2 separate regions of the Homo sapiens genome follow, and region 2 is linked to region 1. The links are contacts of gene promoters, found by promoter capture Hi-C in human tissues and cell types (Jung and others, 2019). All regions are on one chromosome and are shown on one strand. The core of a region is centred on a gene start or on the middle of the fragment in contact, and the rest is flanking DNA. Distances in the headings are between cores, read along the strand shown. Region 1 holds the start of CHST2 (carbohydrate sulfotransferase 2). Region 2 overlaps SLC9A9 (solute carrier family 9 member A9).

Region 1 (3,221 bases), core at 1-2,500:
GAGCACCAGCAGCAGTGCATAGCCCGCGCACAACACCAGCGCCTTCCTACGGAACACCTTCATTCCGAGAGGGGACGCGGGCCAGCGGCGTCCTGGGCGCCGGGGCCACTGCGGGAGCAGGGCACGCGGCGCGGCTGCAGGCGCAGCCTGGAGCAGCCGAGGGAGCGCGCCCGGGGGCAGAGCTCGCTGCGGGCTGCGGCTCATCACAGGCACAATCCGGGCCGGCGGCGCGGCGGAGGCAGCCCTGCAGCCCGGGAAGGGGACGCAGCGGGCTGGCTGCTGGCGCCGGGACTCGGGCCGCGACTCCGAGGCGGGCGCGGCGGCTGGTCCCCAGCGCCCAAGGCTGGCTCTCCCATGGCAGCGGCTCCGGGTAGGACCTGCGAGGGGAAGCGGAGTGAGCGGATGCGCCCCAATCTCCCTCCCAGCCTCCTCCTCCTAAGTAACGCCCACCCTCGGTTCTGCCCGGTTCCTCCGCTCACCTGGAGCCGAGGGCGCGCCCGGGAGCGGCCCCGGATCACCGCCCGGCGGACTGTCCGGCTGTCACTCGTTCCTCGATTTCGCTCCCTCTCGCTTCCGCTGGGGGTCCCCGCACCTTCGAGGGGTCTGGGGAGTCGGCCGACTTATCCCTGGGCAGTTTCCGGGCAGCGGGCGCCCTGCGGCTCGGGAAGAAAAACTTTCACGCGGCCCAGAGCCCCGCTCCGCGCTCCGCCGAACCCGGCGCCTCCCGGCTCCAGCGACGTCTCCTCCGCTTTCTCGGGACCGCAGCTTCCTGTCTCGCTCAGGGGAACGAAGCCGGCTGGGGGCGATGGCTGGGGGCGGCTTATATGGGACTCAGCTCCCGGCATAGCGGCGCAGCCCCTCTCGCTTTCGGCCTCCGTGCGGCGAATTTTCCCACCTCTCTGGCAGCGGTGGATGGGGCACAGCGCGACCCCGCAGCGGCGGCGGCGGCTGCTTCCATCACCGGGAGGATGCCCGGGCGGACAGCGCAGGCAACCCCCGCCGCTCCGCAGCCTCCGACTGGACCAAAGGACCCCGAACACACAGCTCTAGGCAAGGAAACCCAGGTGTGCAGCACTGCCCGACCCGACCCAACCCGCCCCCGGTACCAGCGCTTCTGGCCAACGAGGTATTTAAGCAAAGAAAGACCCCGCCGCAGCCGCCGCCGCCGCGCGAAAGCGGCGCCCAGGAGGATGCTGCTACCCGACTCCCCTTACGCCGGGCGCCCGCAACGCGCTCGGACCAGCCTCTGCGCGGCTCCTGCCAGCCGGCGCCCGGTTGGTGCGCGCCGCCGTCTGTCGCCGCGGCTCCTCCCCTCCGCCGCGCAGCCCTCCCCCTTCGCCGGCCCCGCCCCCGCCCCCAACGCCGAGCCGGCTCCCACCGTCGCTGCGCCTCGGGGGCTGGAGACGCGACCCGCTTTACCGCGACGCGCGGGGGCTGCAGTCCACGGGTCCGAAGGCTTAGCTCTGCGCGCAAAGCGCCGGGATGCGAACGCGGGATCTGGAGCTCGTCGGTGCCGAGAGCTGCCAGAGAGTTGGATTCTGCGTGCAGCTGCCGGACTCGGCCCCATGTTTTTGCTCTCAGAAAGAGTTGGTGATGAAGTTTGGGCAGAAATCCCCTGTCGGCCGTCCGCTCCACGCTTCCCTCGGGGCCGACACTGCCAACCTCTCCGGGCACTGAGGACACCTCTGCGCCCTGGAGCGGTGGGAGGACGCGGAGCGCCGTTCTCTGGCTTCCGACACCCTGCCCGCCCTCTCTAGTGGGTCTGTGGCTGCGCCCTCTCGAAGGAAGTAATAAATCTTTCTGACCTTGGGGGTCAGAGGAGACGCTTCAGTTTTCCGGAGGGGTGTGCGGGCGGGACCGTCTTTCCGCTTTACTGGACCTCTGGCCGGGGCTGCTCTTGTTTCATTGTGCCCCACATGCGGAGCCCCGATGCTCTCCGCATTTCCGCTCGCGGTGCTGCGTCCACTGTGATTGACGTCCTCTGGAATTGGGGTGATGGGGGAGGGGAACGCCCCGTTCTAATTTGCAGAAAAATACTTGTCCCGCTTCTTGGTTTTGTAGATGAGATCAAAGAACTTGACCCCAAAGGAAACACCGTTGTTGAAAGAAAATCATTTTTCAGTTGCTTTAGGTTTAAGTACTTTTGTTTAAGGTTATGAGGAAAAGCGTCTCTCTCTCCCCCCAACTCCCTCCCTCCCCAAGAACACTAAGCTGTAGCCTCAACTTCATCTGTAGAATGGGGACAGTTGTAACAGCCTCCGGAGACTGAACGGTGGTTGAGTATCAGAGCGCGCACACGAAAGGTTAGACCTGAGTTCAGGCCTCCAAGTGCCGAAAAGGGAATCTCCGTGGGGCCTGAGGCTCAGCACCCTCGGATAAACAGAGCTCTCGCTGATCCGGAGTTTTGTTGCCTCCTGTCCCAGTAGAGTTTTTAGAAGTTACTGCACAATTATCTTTGTAGCGTTTCGGGCAGACTTTTCAGAGGACCGTTCTAACATTAAAATATTGCTGTTTGCGCCATTATTCTTCCATGAGTCTTACAGAATCCCCTGAGTACAAAGACTTGAAAAGTGACTTAACTCGCTTTCCACGGGTTTTTAACTCTCTTACGGATTTAGTTTCAGGGGAGAAAAATGTTCAAAAAACTTATTTATCCTTGTTTTCCAGAAAAACCCATAATGTCACGAGTACAGTTCAGCTTATTTTTTCTCCTGGGGAGGGGGATTGGGACAAGGACAGCAGAGCTCAAATTTTATATCCAGCTTTCTCAAATAATATGGCATTGCCTCTGGAAGTGGGTCGAGACAGGCAAGAATCCCTGTTAACAGATGAAGGTGGTAGAGTTTAATTGAGCGACTCCCCATCTTTTCCTTTTCTGGAATCCCCAGCCTCCCTTCGCCTACTCTCTCAAATGCCCCTGCCCCTTTTTCACCACCTCTTTTACCACGAAAACTAAAATGACATTGGTGCATGAAAAGACTGATGGGAGAGAGAGGGAATTGGGGAGGAAAGTAAATCTCAATTTTAATATTCAACATGATTCCAAGAAAAATAATTTCTAATATTTTTCATTTAGTTTCTGGCTTTGTGCTTACCCAGAAAAAAACTGAATTGCATTAGTCGATGTAGGGACCCTTTTTAAAAACAATTGTTTGCATAGAAATAATTCCGTTTGCAATTTTGTAACACTTTACTGGTGTTGGCAAAATAGTAAATCCATT
Region 2 (3,221 bases), core at 366-2,865, 450 kb before region 1:
ATTAGGTTGCCTTTCTGCAACCATGAGGATTTGTGCTTGGGTTACTGCAACAATTGGGTGCTTTTCCATGCAGAAGAATCTCCATGGCTTCCAGCAAAATGTTAATGCTCTTTCTCTCCTCAAGCCACGTTCCCTGCTTCTCCCAGGTTTCAATCCTGGATCCCTTTCTGCTCATTACATCTTAACGGACATTCGAATGGTAAGAATCCTTCGTAACTGGTAGCAAGGTATACCTCCCTCGGTGTTTGCATTTTAATAGGTGATACTTTAAGTCTAAATAATAAATAATAATAAAAGTTGACATATATTGAGGGTGTACCATGAGCCAGATGCTGGCCAGCTGTCTTTCATAGGTGATTTCATTAATCGATAGAAAGATTCAAAAGTAAAAGACTATGCCCAGTTTACTCAGCCAACAGTAAGTGATGGAGCTGGGATTTAAAACCAGGAAATTCAATTTTAGAGCCTGGGTTCTGGGGGACCACGCATTTCTACCTCAAATGAAACTCCATCTGTGAAACATCAAGCGGACCTCTAAGGGTAGGTAGGAAGGAAGTAGTTGGAGCCCCAGGCAACTGCCTGGTTCAGTTGCTCCTTGGCTGGTCTTGGCTCTCCTGTGAATGCCATGGCAAATCTTTTTAGTAATGAGAACCTATTGCTTTAATCAGCTGGCCCAACTTACTGCAGAACCACACAGTCCAAGCTATTCCCGTTGGCTTCAAGGGTGTTTGCTGCCAATACAGAAAGCCACCCACCAGTTCTTATGACACTATAATCAAGACTACATTACTGGATTCCACCCTACCAGGCCTTTGTATCTAAATTATTTCAATACAAATTCTGTTATTTTAGTGCATTGCCACTTTATTAAGGAGGTAGCTGGAAAGCTTATGCATTTCAGAAGAAAACAGTAGCCATGTCCCTTCAGTGAAATAATGTAGGCAAATCATTTACATCACAGTCATTCAAAAAACATTAGTTCCCTTTCTTCCACATTCTGTATTCTATTCAAGTTTAACTTATAAAATGATCCAAGTAGTATTAATAATAAGAAAAAATATTTGACCTTCTAGAAAGGTAAGGAAGTATCTTAACTCACCTAATATTTTTTAATCTACTGTTGGATGTTATAATAAACACACGCGCACACACACACACACACACACACACACCATTGCCTAAGAATTGTCAATTTGTGTAAAAATTGTCTATTTCCTTGTCCATTTCAGCAAGATCTTCTTCTATCAACTACATTAAAGGCTAAGATCCATGGGAAACTGAACAAATTGCTAGTTTGCTTGATCCTTGCTCTTTCACACCCTTTCAACCTGATATCCTTACTGAGCTGCCATACAGACCACCTTCTAAGGAGCCAGCATCATGGGATGGGTGAATATGGGTGTGAACCCCAGTAACAGAAAGATCCAAGTGTCCATGGCTGTACCGAGGGGCAGACTCACCCCCGAGTAGTACACTAGATTTAGGCAATGTGCCTAACAGACATTTGCTACAAACCAAATTCTAGGTGTGAGCATTTTCTATTGCCAAAGACCAAGACCGCTTAGTCCAAATTACTTATGTGTTTGTTTGTTTATTATTTAATCCTTGCCTATTTCCAGATTGGATTTGTGACAACTCATAACATAAGCCATGCACATCACAGGACCATTTAGTTGAGGGTAAACACTCAAGTGCTCTGGGACAGAATTTTTCTGCAAAATTAGGCCACTGTTCATTGCTGTGGTTTGGCAATAAATATAGCTCTGAGCTTTCTGGCAGTCAAAGCCAAAAGGGGAACATGATGAGTTATACAGGAATAATACAGCATTATTTTTTTTTAAGTCATGCTTATCAAAGTGGGCAAACTTTATTTTTCATACTAAAATTTTAGGGGAATTTATCACATGCATCTATATATAAGGGCCTTTGAACACCAGAATGGACAGTGTATTTAATAATAATTTTAGGGAAAATGGAGGTTCATTCTTCATATGGTCATTTCTCATATCAACTTTCAATAAAACCTGAGGGTGTGGCCTCAAATTATAATTCTGTAATTATTTCCATGTAATAATAAAATCATTTTAGTTCTAATGCACAGGTAAACTAATATGATACAAATCTAAAAATCTAGAAAACTTAAAAAAATGATTTCTGCATGAATAGACAACAATGAATACAGTAAACTAAAATGGAAAGAGCTATTAAATAGTTTATGAGTAACTACAGAGGTAACCAGCAATCGTGGAGCCTTGTATGGGTTCACTAACAACACTTAATGTAGCTCCTAGAGATGGTATTAACATGGAATGATTTCTCAGCAGAATTCCCCAGGCCCTGACCTTTCAAAGTGCGCCCTCAAGAACATCCGTCTAGTGAGCAGGGCTCTCGGCCGCCTACCCATACTTCACCCCTTTTATTGGTTTCAGAAATTGGGATATCACATACAATTCTATTTGAAAAAAAATGTTCTGCTACTTTAAACAAAGCACATCTGTTTTTAAATATATTTTATTTTTTTCGTACACCCAAGGTAATCCATACTCACTGTAGAAAATTTAGAAAATGCAGATTTACAGAAGGAAATAAATTTAGAATCACTTATATTCTTATTGCATGTTAATAACAATTGTTAATATTTGGCTGTGTCAAGCTAACTATATATATATAATTATACACACACATATACACTTAAATATGCCTACCTAAATATACTCGTGCATGCATATATCTATATATTTCTTAAGTAACTTGCTTTTTTCATTCAACAATTTATAATGAAAAAAATGCCATGAATGGAGCATTAAAAAATTTATAGTGAATGTTTTCCAAAACATTGAATACTCCATCATATGAACTTGCCATAATTTATTGTAACAACCTTTTGATTATTTACAGGTTTTAATATTCTTATTATTACTGCAATGATAATCTGTATAGCTAGAGATATAAATTTTTATTTATGTAACTGCCTGAAAATAAAATGTCTGGTTTAATAAAAAGACTAAAATTTAAATTTTTGGACAAATTTGTCCAAATTGTCTTTTAGAAAATTTGTATCCCCTTGCACTCCCACCAGCAATCTGAAAGCAAGCTCATTCACTCACGTCTTCACCACCCCAAATCTTATTAATCACTGCTAATTTGATAATCAAGTTCCATTTTCTTCCGGTTTACATTTATTATATTTTTATGAAGGAGAAGCTTTTTTAATTACAGGT

What was found. The method cuts DNA at HindIII sites, captures the fragments that hold promoters and counts their contacts. A contact is called where the count stands out against the background at its distance.
Region 2: a contact is called between a fragment that was not itself captured here and the fragment with the promoter of CHST2 in region 1, in 1 of the 25 tissues and cell types used here (spleen).

The regions. Positions count from the first base shown.
Region 1 is chr3:143,117,800-143,121,020 of GRCh38, reverse strand. It overlaps CHST2 (carbohydrate sulfotransferase 2), which reads right to left and starts at 1,250. Exons shown (of 2, transcript NM_004267.5): 1 at 480-1,250; 2 at 1-377. The coding sequence starts at 204. RefSeq lists silencers at 1-67, 128-327, 388-467, 518-567, 598-647 and 1 more and enhancers at 1-534, 858-907, 1,193-1,692, 1,888-2,017, 1,693-2,194. The HindIII fragment of the contact is 8,898 bases long and covers 1-3,221 here.
Region 2 is chr3:143,570,248-143,573,468 of GRCh38, reverse strand. All of the region lies in intron 8 of SLC9A9 (solute carrier family 9 member A9), which reads left to right. All of the region lies in intron 2 of LOC124906294 (a long non-coding RNA gene), which reads right to left. Among named protein-coding and RNA genes, the nearest start is that of SLC9A9-AS1, 230 kb to the right of the region's middle. The HindIII fragment of the contact is 5,590 bases long and covers 1-3,221 here.